5 separate regions of the Homo sapiens genome follow, and regions 1, 3, 4 and 5 are each linked to region 2. Evidence: promoter capture Hi-C in 16 types of primary human blood cells and fetal thymus (Javierre and others, 2016). All regions are on one chromosome and are shown on one strand. Each heading gives the region's core, a stretch centred on a gene start or on the middle of the fragment in contact. The rest is flanking DNA. Distances are from core to core; before and after follow the strand shown. Region 1 overlaps LOC124904440 (a long non-coding RNA gene). Region 2 holds the start of ITLN2 (intelectin 2). Region 3 has its middle 2.2 kb from the start of LY9. Region 4 overlaps SLAMF7 (SLAM family member 7). Region 5 overlaps LY9 (lymphocyte antigen 9).

What was found. Contacts are between HindIII fragments. The CHiCAGO score rates a contact against its expected background, and 5 or more counts as called.
Region 1: a contact is called between a fragment that was not itself captured here and the fragment with the promoter of ITLN2 in region 2, in 10 of 17 cell types (naive B cells, non-activated CD4 T cells, total CD4 T cells and 7 more). The highest score is 12.0, in naive B cells.
Region 3: a fragment that was not itself captured here is called in contact with the fragment with the promoter of ITLN2 in region 2 in 2 of 17 cell types (naive CD8 T cells and M2 macrophages); the score reaches 5.6 in naive CD8 T cells.
Region 4: a fragment that was not itself captured here is called in contact with the fragment with the promoter of ITLN2 in region 2 in 2 of 17 cell types (M2 macrophages and naive CD8 T cells); the score reaches 5.8 in M2 macrophages.
Region 5: a contact is called between a fragment that was not itself captured here and the fragment with the promoter of ITLN2 in region 2, in 6 of 17 cell types (M2 macrophages, naive CD8 T cells, total CD8 T cells and 3 more). The highest score is 6.6, in M2 macrophages.

What each region holds. Positions count from the first base shown.
Region 1 is chr1:160,731,973-160,734,672 of GRCh38, reverse strand. It overlaps LOC124904440 (a long non-coding RNA gene), which reads left to right. Exons shown (of 2, transcript XR_007066687.1): 2 at 420-641. Among named protein-coding and RNA genes, the nearest start is that of SLAMF7, 5.9 kb to the left of the region's middle. RefSeq lists an enhancer at 2,277-2,396. The HindIII fragment of the contact is 884 bases long and covers 1,002-1,885 here.
Region 2 is chr1:160,953,434-160,956,189 of GRCh38, reverse strand. ITLN2 (intelectin 2) reads left to right here and starts at 1,381. Exons shown (of 8, transcript NM_080878.3): 1 at 1,381-1,463; 2 at 1,740-1,803. The coding sequence starts at 1,449. The HindIII fragment of the contact is 24,751 bases long and covers 1-2,756 here.
Region 3 is chr1:160,792,621-160,795,320 of GRCh38, reverse strand. No RefSeq gene overlaps it. Among named protein-coding and RNA genes, the nearest start is that of LY9, 2.2 kb to the left of the region's middle. The HindIII fragment of the contact is 974 bases long and covers 944-1,917 here.
Region 4 is chr1:160,752,718-160,755,417 of GRCh38, reverse strand. SLAMF7 (SLAM family member 7) reads right to left here. Exons shown (of 7, transcript NM_021181.5): 7 at 597-2,312. The coding sequence ends at 2,241. Among named protein-coding and RNA genes, the nearest start is that of SLAMF7, 15 kb to the right of the region's middle. The HindIII fragment of the contact is 3,711 bases long and covers 1-2,700 here.
Region 5 is chr1:160,810,664-160,813,363 of GRCh38, reverse strand. The region is part of intron 2 of LY9 (lymphocyte antigen 9); the gene reads right to left. Among named protein-coding and RNA genes, the nearest start is that of LY9, 16 kb to the right of the region's middle. The HindIII fragment of the contact is 1,273 bases long and covers 641-1,913 here.

The DNA of each region.
Region 1 (2,700 bases), core at 194-2,693, 220 kb after region 2:
AAGAGACTGAGCATAATGTCTGACCATAATTGTAAACAAGACATTTTTCTAACTTGGGTCACAGGTTGACAACTTGTTTACTAATATTGACCTTATTTTCTTAAGAGCCAGAGAGGTATTTTCCCCAAAGTTACACAGCATTTTATTAGCACAGCCAAGCCAGAAACTAAAATATTGTGATGACCTCAAACCCAGTAATGTTTCCATTATGAGGTATCACCCATTTGTGCACCATACTAGTACAAATGTGGCAATGGCAGAAATAGTAGTTTTAAAGTGCCATGATTATGAATCCTGAAAATCTTGGCAAACAGAATGAGGATGGAGATGAGATATCCTGTATAAATTGACCTAGAGGTGATTTTGGAGCAGATATTTCATTCTCATTCAAACAATTTTACTCTTTTTCCATGTCTCAGCTTTCCTTATTCCTGAAAATGACCAAGCCAAGATTTCTGGGAAGATATGGAGAGAAACTATTATGAAATGGAAAGGGGCCTGAGCTGGGTGGAATGAGATCAGTGAAAAGTCCTGGGGGTACTCCACCAAAAAAACATCAAAAGAAGAACTGAAAATGAAAGTAAAGCCTATGTTGAATTAGAAAGTGACTGCCTTTGTAAAATAAAATTTAATTAAAAGCATTTGGTAGTTAATCATTCCCTCTTTCTTGAGACATTTTGGCCCATGAGACTGTACTCTCTCTTGGTTCCTTCCTTCCCAAGTGATATGGTTTGGATATTTATTCCCTCCAAATCTCACATTGGAATGTGATCCCCAGTGTTGGAGATGGGGCCTAGTGGGAAGTGTTTGGGTCATGAGGGTGGATCCCTCATGAATGGCTTGTTGCCCTCCCCATAGTAATAAGTGAGATTTCGCCCTATTAGTTCATGTGAGAGCTGGTTGTTTAAAAGAGCCTGGTGCCTTCTCCCCTCTCTCTTTTTCTCCCTCTCTCACCATATGACATGCCTGCTCCTCTTCATTTTCTGCCATGATTGTAAGCTTCCTGAAGCCCTCACCAGAAGCTGAGCAGATACACGTGCCATTCTTGTACAGCTTGCAGAATCATGAGCCAAATAAACCTCTTTTCTTTATAAATTACCCAGTCTTGGGTATTCCTTTATAGCAATGGAAAATGTCTCTGGGTTCAGTCCTTAGACTTACTCATTTTTTAATCTATCCTGATTCCTTAGGTGATCTCATTCAGTCTCTTGGTTTGAAATACCAAATTTTATTTCCAACTGTAACCTTTTTCTTGAATTCAAGTCTTGTATATCCAGCTACCTACTCAGAATCTCCATTTGGATATTTAAAAGGCATCTAAAACTTCACATGTGCCAATCAAACTCCTGTTTGCCTACCTTCTACCTCCTCCTCCATCTGTGTTCTCCAACTCAGTAAACTGCAGCTCCAATCACTCAGGTTTTCAGGACAGAAAATTATAATTATCCATGACTCCCCTTTCTTATCCCCATATCCATCCATCAGAAAATTCTATTGACTTTGCCTTGGAAAAAATGCCTAGAACCTGATAACTTCTCATTGCCTTCACCACCTTCGCCACTACCATCTCTCACCTGCACTACTGCAACAGCCGCCTAACTAGTCTCCTTGCCTCTATCTTTGTCCCCTATAATGTATTTTTCACAGGCTACTAAAGTGATTCTTTAAACACATAAGTCAGATCATGTTGTTCCTCTGCTTGCCAGTTGTCTCCCATAGCTCTTTGAATAAAATACAAACTTCTTCCCAGGGCCTCCAAGACCCCATATGATGGTTCTTGGCTACCTTTTTAATGTCATCTCCCATCACTTTCCCCTGACGTATTCCACACCTGTCACACTAACCACCTCAATGTTCTTGAATATTCCAAGCACACTCCAAAGCTTTTGCACTAGAGGAGGGCCCTTCCCCAGATGACCATATGGCTATCTCTTTCTTGAGATCTACTCAGTGTCACCTATCAGACAGGGGCTCCTGTGCCCCTATAGAACATCACTCCCTGATCTTTTACTCTCTATCTCCTTACCCTGCCTTATTATTATTTTTTCCTTCTAGGATCTGCTACCCTAAAATCTAAGAAGCATCAGAAGAAGGACTTTGTCTGCTTTGTTTGCTGCCCTATCCCCAGTAACTAGAAGAGTGCCTGGTATATAGCAGACCTTCAATATGTATATCAAATGAGTAAGTGGGTGTCCTGAGCAATAAAAATTGAGTAATTATGAATGATATGCAGCATTTTCTTCTTTGTATTTGGAGAAGAAAATTAGGAGCACAAAACTGTGTGATTTCTCAGGCCCTCATGACTGCATCTTTTGTGAGATTGGTATGATGGTAGAGCAGAGTGTGGGGGAAAATTTAGAAACTCCAGAAAGTTGAGAGAAAATTTAGAAAGAATGCTTCTGCTTTTCTGGGGGTGGGGGGAGTTTGTGTCATCTCAAATTGAGAAACTGTTGTTGCTTATTTAAGCCACCCTTAACAGTACTGTAAACAACTAGTGTAGTTTTAAAAACAGCATTTCATGCAAATCAAAACCACAAGGAGATACTATCTCATGCCGGTTAGAATGGTGATCATTAAAAAGTCAGGAAACAACAGATGCTGGAGAGGATGTGGAGAAATAGGAATGCTTTTACACTGTTGGTGTGAGTGTAAGTTAGTGCAACCATTGTGGAAGACAGTGTGGCCATTCCTCAAGGAGCT
Region 2 (2,756 bases), core at 132-2,631:
CGTATCTACTAAAAATACAAAAATTAGCTGGGCGTGGTGGTGGGTGCCTGTAATCCCAGTTACTCGGGAGGCTGAGACAGGAGAATCACTTGAACCTGGGAGGCGGGGGTTGCAGTAAGCTGAGACCATGCCATTGCACTCCAACCTGGGTGACAGAGTGAGGCTCTGTGTCAAAAAACAAAACAAAATAAAAAAAACCCATACGCATTTATTTAAAGGTAAAAGCCCATGATGTATGTACCTTACCTTCAAATGGTTCAGAAAAAAATTTTGTGTGTGTGGGTGTATTTTATATACATATATCTATATATATATAGAGAGAGAGAGAGAGAACACGAAAGATAAAGCAAATGGGGTGAAATATTAACAATAGTTGAATCTAGGTAAAGGGCATATATGTGGCTTTATATTATTGTTATTTTTGCAACATTTAATAAATTTCAAATTGTTTCTAAACAGAGTTAATAAAACAATAAAATTACAGCAGGATACATGCAATAATTAGTGTTTGGACAGTGTATAGTGGGACAAAGGAAGGATCCATCAGCTTTGTCTGGTGATGGGGGTGTCAGGGAAGGCCTCATAGAGAAATTGGAGGAAAGATTGGAAGGATGATGTCTTCTTTTCCCATTTATTTATTATTATTATTATTATTATTATTTTGAGGTGAAGTCTTGCTCTGTTGCCCAGGCTGGAGTGCAGTGGAGCAGTCTTGGCTCACTGCAACCTCCACCTCCTGGGTTCAAGCAGTTCTCCTGTCTCAGCCTCCAGAGTAGCTGGGATTACGGGTGCACGCCACTGCACCCAGCTAAATTTTTGTATTTTTAGTAGAGACAGGGTTGCACCATGTTGGCTGGTCTTGAACTCCTGACCTCAGGTAATCCGCCCACCTCGGCCTCCCAAAGCGCTATGATTATAGGTGTGAGCCACTGTGCCTGGCCAATTATTATTCTTAATTAATTAATTTATTTTTCATGAGGTGTCACCTCAGTCTAAAAGGATGATTTCTTGACAGAGTTGTGTCTAGGGGGCCAGGGCATCTGGGGGAGGTGGGAGAGGGAGAACGCAGGGGAGGATTGTGACCTATCCACGAATCTGATTAGATACTGCTACATTGTATGGCCTGCCTTGGCAAAGCAGGATGCCCCTCCTCAGATGGCGACAGTCACCTGTGTGGCCAGGAACACAGCTCCCTGCTCCTCCAGCCAGTCGCACGTCCTTTCTCATTTCCACGGTCCCAGGCTCAGGTACCCTCAGAGGGAAGGGCTTCAGAGGGAGGGGCTAGCAGCCTAGGCTGCTCAGGGTTGGGCTGGGCAGGGCTCAGGTGGTTTGGCTCTCCACAGCTCTCCACATAAAGGGACCAGCACTTCACCCTTCATCAGGATCCTCTGCAGGGGAGCTCCGAGTGTCCACAGGAAGGGAACTATCAGCTCCTGGCATCTGTAAGGATGCTGTCCATGCTGGTGAGAAAAATGTTTTTGATCCATGTGTGTGGGAGCAATGATGCCAGCTCAGGTCTCAGTTTTAGAGATTTAGAGTTTCAGGGAAATGAGCCCATGGCCCCTTGGGTATTTGTAGTGTTGGACAGCCGTGGGGCATATTCCAGGAGGTTTTAGAATGCTCATGAGCCCATCACTTTCCATTTGAGGATTCCTGACTCAGAAAGGTTAGGAAGTAAGAACGAGAGGATGACAAAGGAAGGGCCAGCCAGTGACCTTGTGCATCTTGTTTTTCCTTAGAGGACAATGACCAGACTCTGCTTCCTGTTATTCTTCTCTGTGGCCACCAGTGGGTGCAGTGCAGGTAAATGGCTTCTGAGAGTAGGAGCTGCAGTTTCCTGGGCTCCCCTCTGCTGTGCAGGGCCTGGAGGGAGTAGAGCTGGGCAGGGCTCTGAAGTCAAGGGTCAAAGGGGAAGTTCTGGAGAGGCAGGGAACCCAGGCTAGGCAGCCAACTTGAGGTGTGGACTGGGTGCTGATTTCTGGCCTCTCCTGGGGTCTGGTCTGAAGCAGTCAGGGTGTTAGCTCAGGTATTTCCTAGGGCTTGATTCTCTGCTTCTGTGGCTGTGAGGGGTTCATGGGGTGAGAGAGTAAGAACTGTGTCCCTGCTCAGCTGCTCTTGTGGCCTTGGCCTTGGGATCTCCAGAGGCAGCTGGGTGATCAGTGCTGTGTCCAGGGTACACCCTCCTCTAGTCGCAGAGGAGGATATTGTGAGAATAGAATCCTCACAATTCTATTCTTCCAGTAGGCACAATAGTGATATTTTTTCATTGATACTGGGTTTATTGTTTATTTCAATCCATCAGTTAAAAAAAGCACATTTACATATGTCATCTCATTTGATCTCCATGCGTATAAAGAAGTTATTAATGACATCTTAAAGATGAAGAAAAAGGATCAGAGATGTTAAGTGTCTGCTCAAGGAGGCACTGTCATCAGGGTTTGTCTGGATTTTACCTTGAGTCCTGTAATTTTTTTTTTTTTAGACGGAGTCTTGCTCTGTTGCCCAGGTTGGAGTGCGGTGGCGTGATGTCGGCTCACTGCAACCTCCGTCTCCTGGGTTAAAGAGCTTCTCCTGCCTCAGCCTCCCCAGTAGCTGGGATTACAGGTGTGCACCACCACACCCCAGCTAATTTTTGTATTTTTAGTAGAGATGGGGTTTCACCATATTGACCAGGCTGTTCTTGAACTCCTGATCTTGTGATCCACCCTCCTCGGCCTCCGAAAGTGCTGGGATTACCGGCATGAGCCACTGTGCCT
Region 3 (2,700 bases), core at 181-2,680, 160 kb after region 2:
ATTTTTTATTTTTCATCAAAAATGCTTATTGTTTTTAGCTGTGAAGTTTGGGGCAATTTGTTACACAGCAACAGATAACTAATACAGTGACCCAATACATTTTCTATTTTGCTCAAGGCAGTTTGTGCTAGCTTTCTGTCACATGCAATGAAGGACTTTTAATATGGACAAAGGCATCAGGGAGACTGCAATGGGGGTGGACATCGTATGTGACAGCGTAGAGGTGACTGAGTTGAAAAGGTAGGCTGGAGAATGGCATGATTCCCTATATCCTGACTTGGGAAACTGTCTTTTTCTCCTCCTTCTTCTTGTCAGTAGCGTAATAGCTGGCCATGCTATGGTTTGTGTTTCGGGCTTCAGGTCATTTGTTTACTTAGGCTGTAACATTAAGGGGACTTGGCAGGAAAACTTGAGGCTGGCAGAATGTGTAGTTTTAGCTAATATTCGATGAAAGCTTACAGAGTGCTAGTCCATCTTCTGACACTTTAACATATTCACTCATTTGATCTTACAATAGTTTTATGAGATATCTTTTATCATCCCCATTCTATAAATGAGAAAACTGAGGTGGAGAGGGGTTAAATAGCTTACTATAAGTTTTATAGTTAGTAAGGACTTGAACCCAGGAAGTCTGGGTTCAAAGGAAGAAGGGAGAGAGAGAGAGAAACCATTAAGATAACAGGCTTATGTCCATGGAAAGCATCTTTAGAGGCTGGTCATGATCTGATGTTGCACAATATTGAAAGTGACAGAATCTCGAAAATCTTTAAATTTTGTGCACTAGGAGCGTGTCTTGTTTCACTCTAGCCTTGGTCCTGTGACTAGAACATGGGCTGTCTAGAGGGGATTGCAGGACATACGGTCAGGAGAGGTTACCAGAGCCCAGATAAAGCATCCTGTTACCAAGCTAAAGGCAACAAGAATCCAGTAGGAGTAGGAAGCTTCCTGGAGCTGCAGAGTGGAGGGAGAATGGGTGGAAGGGATGAGCCTGGGGATGAGAAGACAGGTGCGGAAGCTATTGAAGGAGTCTGGGTACAGAACATGAGAGCAGGAACAGTCTGCATGGGAGGCGAGGGCAAAGGCAGAAGGGAATTCAGAGAGATTGGTAATAATAAAAATCATTACTAACATTTATTGGGTAATTACTATGAGTGAGCCTCTGTGTTTAGAACTTTACATATGTTTTCTCCTTTAATCCTAAGATAGACCCTATTTGGATGATACTCCAATTATCCCCATTTTAGAGATGAGAAAACTGAGATTTAGGAAAGTAACATCACTGAAATGACCTCCTTTGAAGTTGTGACCATAGGAGGACACAGCCTTATAATACACAAAATCCAATTTAAGTATTATCATTTAAGTATAGTAAAACCTAAATTAATATAAATTTTGGTATGATGCATTTGTTAAGTGTGCCCTGTCCTCACATGGGGAGGGCTAATATTCTCATCAGGACAGGGAGGCAAAGGCACTAGCATTGGGAATCAGGGAGCAACATCCAGTGATGCTGGCCCCGGCGTCTCCAGTGTTGTCCTTCTCAGTATACTTCAACCACCCCAGCAAGTGGGTGTGACTGACTGGAAAATTTTTGAAATCCCTGCTACTGTCCTTGGAGTCCCGCCAGCTACAGGCCCAGAATCACCCCTGTCAACTGGGCATTGCCTCCAGGTAGCATCAGACTCCAGCCTGGGTTGAGATTTGGGTCTGGCAGCCACAACCACATACTCAGCTGTGTTGCTTCACCACCAGCCCCCAACCAACACTTCATTCACTGTGCAATTAAGACGACCCTGCATTTTACACAATTGCATTTTTTGGACTTTATTTCTAATGTTGTCTTGACTTGCAGTATATATATGCTACTACAGATTGGAAGAATATGAAAGACTGTAGAATTTTGACAAGCTCAAAGCTTTTTACACTTAGATGGAAAGACAAATATATGTTAGGAGCTAAAGAAATTCAACATCAAATCAACTGCTGCAGCCACAGTAGAGGGAAGAATTAGGGAATGTCACAGTGTTCAAGTGGAATCTAGGGATATAGGCTATGAGACCAGCCTTTTAGAGGGTAGCAACAAAACAAGCAAAAAGTGGTGCTGCCAGCTGGGCACATTGGCTCACGCCTGTAATCTCAGCACTTTGGGAGGCCGAGGTGGGCAGATCACGTGAGGTCAGGAGCTCAGGACCAGCCTGACCAATATGGAGAAACCCTGTCTCTATTAAAAATACAAAATTATTGGGAGGCGGAGGCGGGCGGATCACGATGTCAGGAGATCGAGACCATCCTGGCTAACATGGTGAAACCCCGTCTCTACTAAAAAAAAAAAACAAAAAACAAAAAAACAAAATTAGCCGGGTGTGGTGGCACGCGCCTGTAATCCCAGCTACTGGGGAGGCTGAGGAAGGAGAATCGCTTGAACCTGGGAGGCGGAGGTTGCGGTGAGCCGAGATTGTGCCATTGCACTGCAGCCTGGGCAACAAGAGCGAAACTCCACCTCAAAAAAAAAGGGGTGCTGGTAATACCATTAGTTAACATGTCAGTGATATTTCTGGTCATTAAGCAACTTTAGCTAATTGAGAAGGTACCCCAGGAAATGGCTGTAAATGGGATGACATAATTGTTTCTTTTGTGGTTATGAATCTTTCAATCCTGGGAAAATAAGGAATACAAAATAGACATGTTCAAGGTAATCAG
Region 4 (2,700 bases), core at 59-2,558, 200 kb after region 2:
GTGCAGTGGTGCGATCTCGGCTCACTGCAACCTCCACCTCCCGGGTTCAAGAGATCCTCCTGCCTCAGCCTCCCAAGTAGCTGGGACCACAGGCACATGCTAAAAATTTGTTATTTTTAATTTTATTTTTGATTCAGAAGCTACATGTGTAGGTTACACAGGTATATTTCATGATGCTGAGTATAACCCATAATTCTTTTTTTGAGATGGAGTCTTGCTCTGTCGCCTAGGCTGGAGTGCAGTGGCGCGATCTTGGCTCACTGCAACCTCCCCGTCCTGGGTTCAAGCAATTCTCCTCCCTCTGCCTCCCAAGAAGCTGGGATTACAGGGGCTCACCACCATGCCCGGCTAATATTTTTTGTATTTTTAGTAGAGACGGGGTTTCATCATGTTGGCCAGGCTGTTCTTGAACTCCTGACCTCAAGTAATCCACCTGCCTCGGCCTCCCAAAGTGCTGGGATTACAGGCGTGAGCCACTGCTCCCGGCCTAACCCATAATTCTTAATGTCTATGTATGAACAGACCTTCACCTGTGGTGGTCAGTTTCTTTGGCAGTTTCCAGAATTTCACTATTGCAAATAGCAAAATAATGCATCTTTTTGTATGTGAATCTCACAATATCTGTTTTATTAAGATAGTAAAGAAGACTTTTTTACTACAATAGGGTTTTGCAGTAGGGAGAGAGATCTGGCTCAATTCCTTCACAATGCCTTTCTGAGAGAAGATAATCCTCAATCCCATTCTTGCCCAACAAGCATTTGTTATTAAGTTTTTCAACACTTTCATCACTTGGTAGGGAGGTCTCCATTCAAGATATGTGTCAGGGAACATATCAAAAGCAGCCATTCCCCTTTCCCCTTCCCCATGTTTTTCACTTAAGTATAAGAGATGGTGAGCTCTGTATTGGTAGGGATGTTCATCTTACGTGCCAGACTGACCTAGCACAGGTGTTTGTTTGTTTGTTTGTATTGGAGTTTTGCTCTCGTTGCCTAGGCCGGAGTGCAGTGGTGCCATCTCAGCTCACTGCAACCTCCACCTCCCAGGTTCAAGCGATTCTCATGCCTTGGCCTCTCGAGTAGCTGGGATTACAGGTGCACACCACCACGCTCAGCAAATTTTTGTATCTTTAGTAGAGATGGGGTTTCACCATGTTGGCCAGGCTGGTCTTGAACTCCTGACCTCAGATGACCCACCCACCTTGGCCTCCCAAAGTGCTGGGATTACAGGTGTGAGCCACCATGCCGGGCCGCATAGGTTCTTAATAAATATCTATTGAATGAATTAACCATCTTTAAAGGTTTACAAGTACCCACTGCCCCCCGTGCCCCACCAGTCTCACTGCCTGACTCCAAGTCTCCTACACTAGATTTACAATGTGACTTCAGACTCGGTCTCTTTATTGGGATGGGTTCTGGCACAGCCTTAAAACCTAGACTTTTCTTTTGCAGCACAAGTGCATAAATGAAGCCTGGCTGGAGGTCCTTGTCCTTGGGCCATGCACACTTCTGTGTCTCCATTATAGTATCTGCCAAACATGGTCAGCTACCCTGATTCTTCATCTTTGTGAACTTTGACCTTCAAGTCCTGTGGATCCACACCTGGCCCTCTGGGAATCTGTGGTCAGGCCTGCTACAACTGCTCATGAAAGTAGTTCATTCATTTGGAGCCAATTTCATGAGGGCAGACAGCATGTCTGACCAATTAGTGTAAGCTCAGCATAGTGCTGGGCACATAGTTTATAGAGCCAATTAATACATCCATTTTTGTCAGGTGCATCTGCTTCTGCTGGACTTGTCTGTCTGTTTTGGTCTTCTTGCCCTCCTGGTAGCAAGACTCTTGGTATAATCCTGACATCCAAGCCCTGGGATGGAATGAAACTCCAGACACTGACCTGGAGCCATCATTAATACAACAGGCTGTCATTAATATGTGTGACCTTGCATTTACATTTTTATAGGAATACTTCTAAGCACTTTTTTTATGGTTTGCTGACATTCACAATCCCATTTTTGGGATGAAGTGATTAAACCTTCTGGGTTTGAGGAGATTTCTCAGCAGTGGATGGAATTATGAACTCTTAAATCTAAAGAAGCATCAGAGATAATTTATCCTGGAAAAAAGTCAACGTTCTTCATTCTTCCTTGATGTTTCTAGTCAAATCAGTGAATTCTTCTGATTGTTTTCTTTGGGCCGAGAATTGTTTTTTTTTTGAGCAGAGACTTAGGGGAGTGCACTGCTGTCTAGATAACATTCTCATAGGCAAATAGCCTTGGTGTGTCTGGCATCGTGAGCAGTGAGTGGGGATTTTCCATCTGAAGACAGACAAAAAGAAAGTAGAGTGAGGGAGGTGAGCAGGGCTCTGGATCGTCCATGGAGACCCTGACATCCAGGAAACTTTATTTCCAAGGTTACCCAACCCAAATCGGCTGGCATGCTGGCTCCCACTGTTTGATTTTAATCACCCCTAGCTTAGAGAAACTATTCTGTAAGTTTAACGCATATTTATCTTGCTGAATGCTTAATGAACTGAACTTTCCTTGTTCAGTTGTAATAATTCACTAAACCAACCTTTTCTATTACTAAGCAAACTGCTTTAATGATTCTTATCTTTTTGGATCTGTTTGGGAGAGGAAGAAAAAGGAGACAGAAAGATACCATTACTGCTGCCAACCGTACTCTGTGAAGGAATAAGCCTTAAAG
Region 5 (2,700 bases), core at 28-2,527, 140 kb after region 2:
GGCTGATTCCTGTGTCTGAACATCTAACACCCAGCCTGCCTTATGAAAAACACTCATGAATGTTCAATGAATAAATAGGTGAATGGCCCAGCCCCAAACGCTATGGAGTGGGGACCTCTGCTTCTAGAATTTGAGTTGCCCGTGTCTTTGGTCTGAATTTAGGATGCATTGTGCTTCTAGATCTTCTTCCTTGTCTTCTCCTTTCCTTTTGTTCCATCTCCACTGCTCACCATGTATGTGCACATGTGTGAATGTTTCATTAAGTTATATTTCTTTTTTGAGACAGAGTCTCACTCTGTTACCCAGGCTAGAGTGCAGTGGCGTGATCACTGCTCACTGCAACCTCTGCCTCCTGGGTTCAAGCGATTCTCCTGCCTCAGCCTCCTGAGTAGCTGGGATTACAGGCACACAGCACCACACCCGGCTAATTTTTGTATTTTTAGTAGAGATGAAGTTTCACCAGTTGGCCAGGCTGGTCTCGAACTCCTGACCTCAGGTGATCTGTCTGCCTTGGCCTCCCAAAGTGCTGGGATTACAGGCATGAGCCACTGCACCTGGCCCAATATTTCTTCTTTTGAATAGGTAATACATTAAAAAAAATTGAGAAAATACCAAAGCTACATAATGAAAAAAGTAAGCTTTCTAGCCTCCAGCCATTTATTTCATCTCCCCAAGAATTACTATTCCTGGAGGCAATTACTGTTATGGGTTTCTTGTTGATCTTTCCAGAGGTATTCTAGATATAGACAGATATATGCATACTTTACACACTGTTTTGAACCTTAAAAAATTAACAATATATCTTGGAAATTATTGTACGTCATTTGTCAACACATGTGGAGTTGATTCATTCTAATTCTATTAACTGCACAGAATTCCGTTTCCTTAATAGATACAGAATACCCTACAAATCAATGAAAACGGTCAAATTATCTGATAGAAAGATGGTGTTATGAGCTAAACTGTGTCTCTGCAAAGTTTAGATGTTGAAGTCTTAACCTCTAGCACCTCAGAATGTGACCGTATTTGAAGATAGAACTATATTTGGAGATAGAAGTAATTAAGTTAAAATGGGGCCATTAGGGTGGGCCCTAGTCTGATATGAGTGGTATCCTTATAAGAAGATGAGATTAGAGCACAGACAATATAGACAGAGGGACACCCATGTGAAGACATGGAGAGAAAGTGGCCATGTGGGAGCCAAGGAGAGAGGCCGCAGAAGAAACCAAGCCGCTGATACCTTCATTGGCCTCCAGAATTGTGTTCTGGAGAAATGTGGAATACGTTTCTGTTGTTTAAGCTAGTCAGTCTGCAGTATTTTGTTATGGCAGCCCTAGAAAACTAACACAGATTTTGATACCAGAAGTGGGATGAAGCTCTAAAAATCTAAAAATGTGAAGTGGCTTTGGAATGGGCTGATGGGTGGAGATTGGAAGAATTTTGAGGTGTGTGCTAGAAAAATCCTAGATTGTCTTCAAGAGACTCTGGGTAGAAACATGAATGTTAACGAAAATTTGGGTGAGCACTCAGAAAGAAAATAGGAACACTGCAGGGAATGCTGCTATTACCTTAGAGATATACATATGTGATCATGAGCAGAATGTTGGTAAAAATATAAATATTAAATGTGTTGCTGGTGAGGTCTCAGACAGAAATTAGAAATATGTTACTGGAAACTGGAGGAAAGGGCATACTTGTTGTAAAGTGGCAAAGAACTCGGCCACGTTGTATTCTAGTGTTTTGTGGAAAGCAGAATGTTTAAGTGATAAATTTGGGTACTTAGCTGTGGAGATTTCTAATCAAAGAGCTGAAGGCACTGCCTAGTTTCTCCTTGCTACTTATATAAAATGTGAGAAGAGAGAGAGAGGTTAAATAAGGAATTGTCAAGCAAGATGGAGCCAGAACTTAAAGCTTTGAAAAAATGTCACCTATTCATATTGCGAAAAACGAGAAAGTGTGTCTGGAGAGAACACAAAGATTGTGGCTTGGCAATGTTTGCTAAAGAGGTTATGAGATTTGACCACCTCAGCAGAAATGCTGCCAGTCTGGACTGTAAGGGACAGAGACAGGACAAATGAAGGAGTGTGTCAGGCTTCTGGGATTTTATGAAATAAGTCAATACAGCTGTACAGCTGCAAATATGTATTATCCTTCAAGAAAAGGGAAGAGTGACCCCACAGGCAGTTCAGAAGTAGGCAGAGCTGCCACTGCCACCATAGGCCTAGAGGGCACAAGCCTTGGGTAGGGTGAGGTGGTTTCCTCCTTGGTTCCAGGGGGCAGAACTGCCGCTCAGGGCCAAGGAGGTGGGGCTGCTACTCCAGTGGGCCCAGAGGATAGAGCACTGAGCCAAAGAGTATTATGCTTGAGCCTTAAAATCTAATGGAATTTACCCTGTTAGGTTTTGGACTTGTTTGGGACCTGTGACTTTTTTCTTCTTCCCAATGTCTCTCTTTTGGAATGGCAATGTCTATTCCATACCTGTTCCACCATTGAATTTTGGAGGCAGATAACTTCTCTGGTTTTGCAGGTTCACAACTGAAGAAGAATTTTGCCTCAGGGTGAATCATATCTCAAGTCTCACCCATACCTGATTTAAATAATATTTAGATGGATTTTGGACTTACAGTTGATGCTGGAATGGGTTAAAACTTCTGGTATTGTTGGAATGTGGTGAATGTATTTTGCATGTGAGAAGGACAT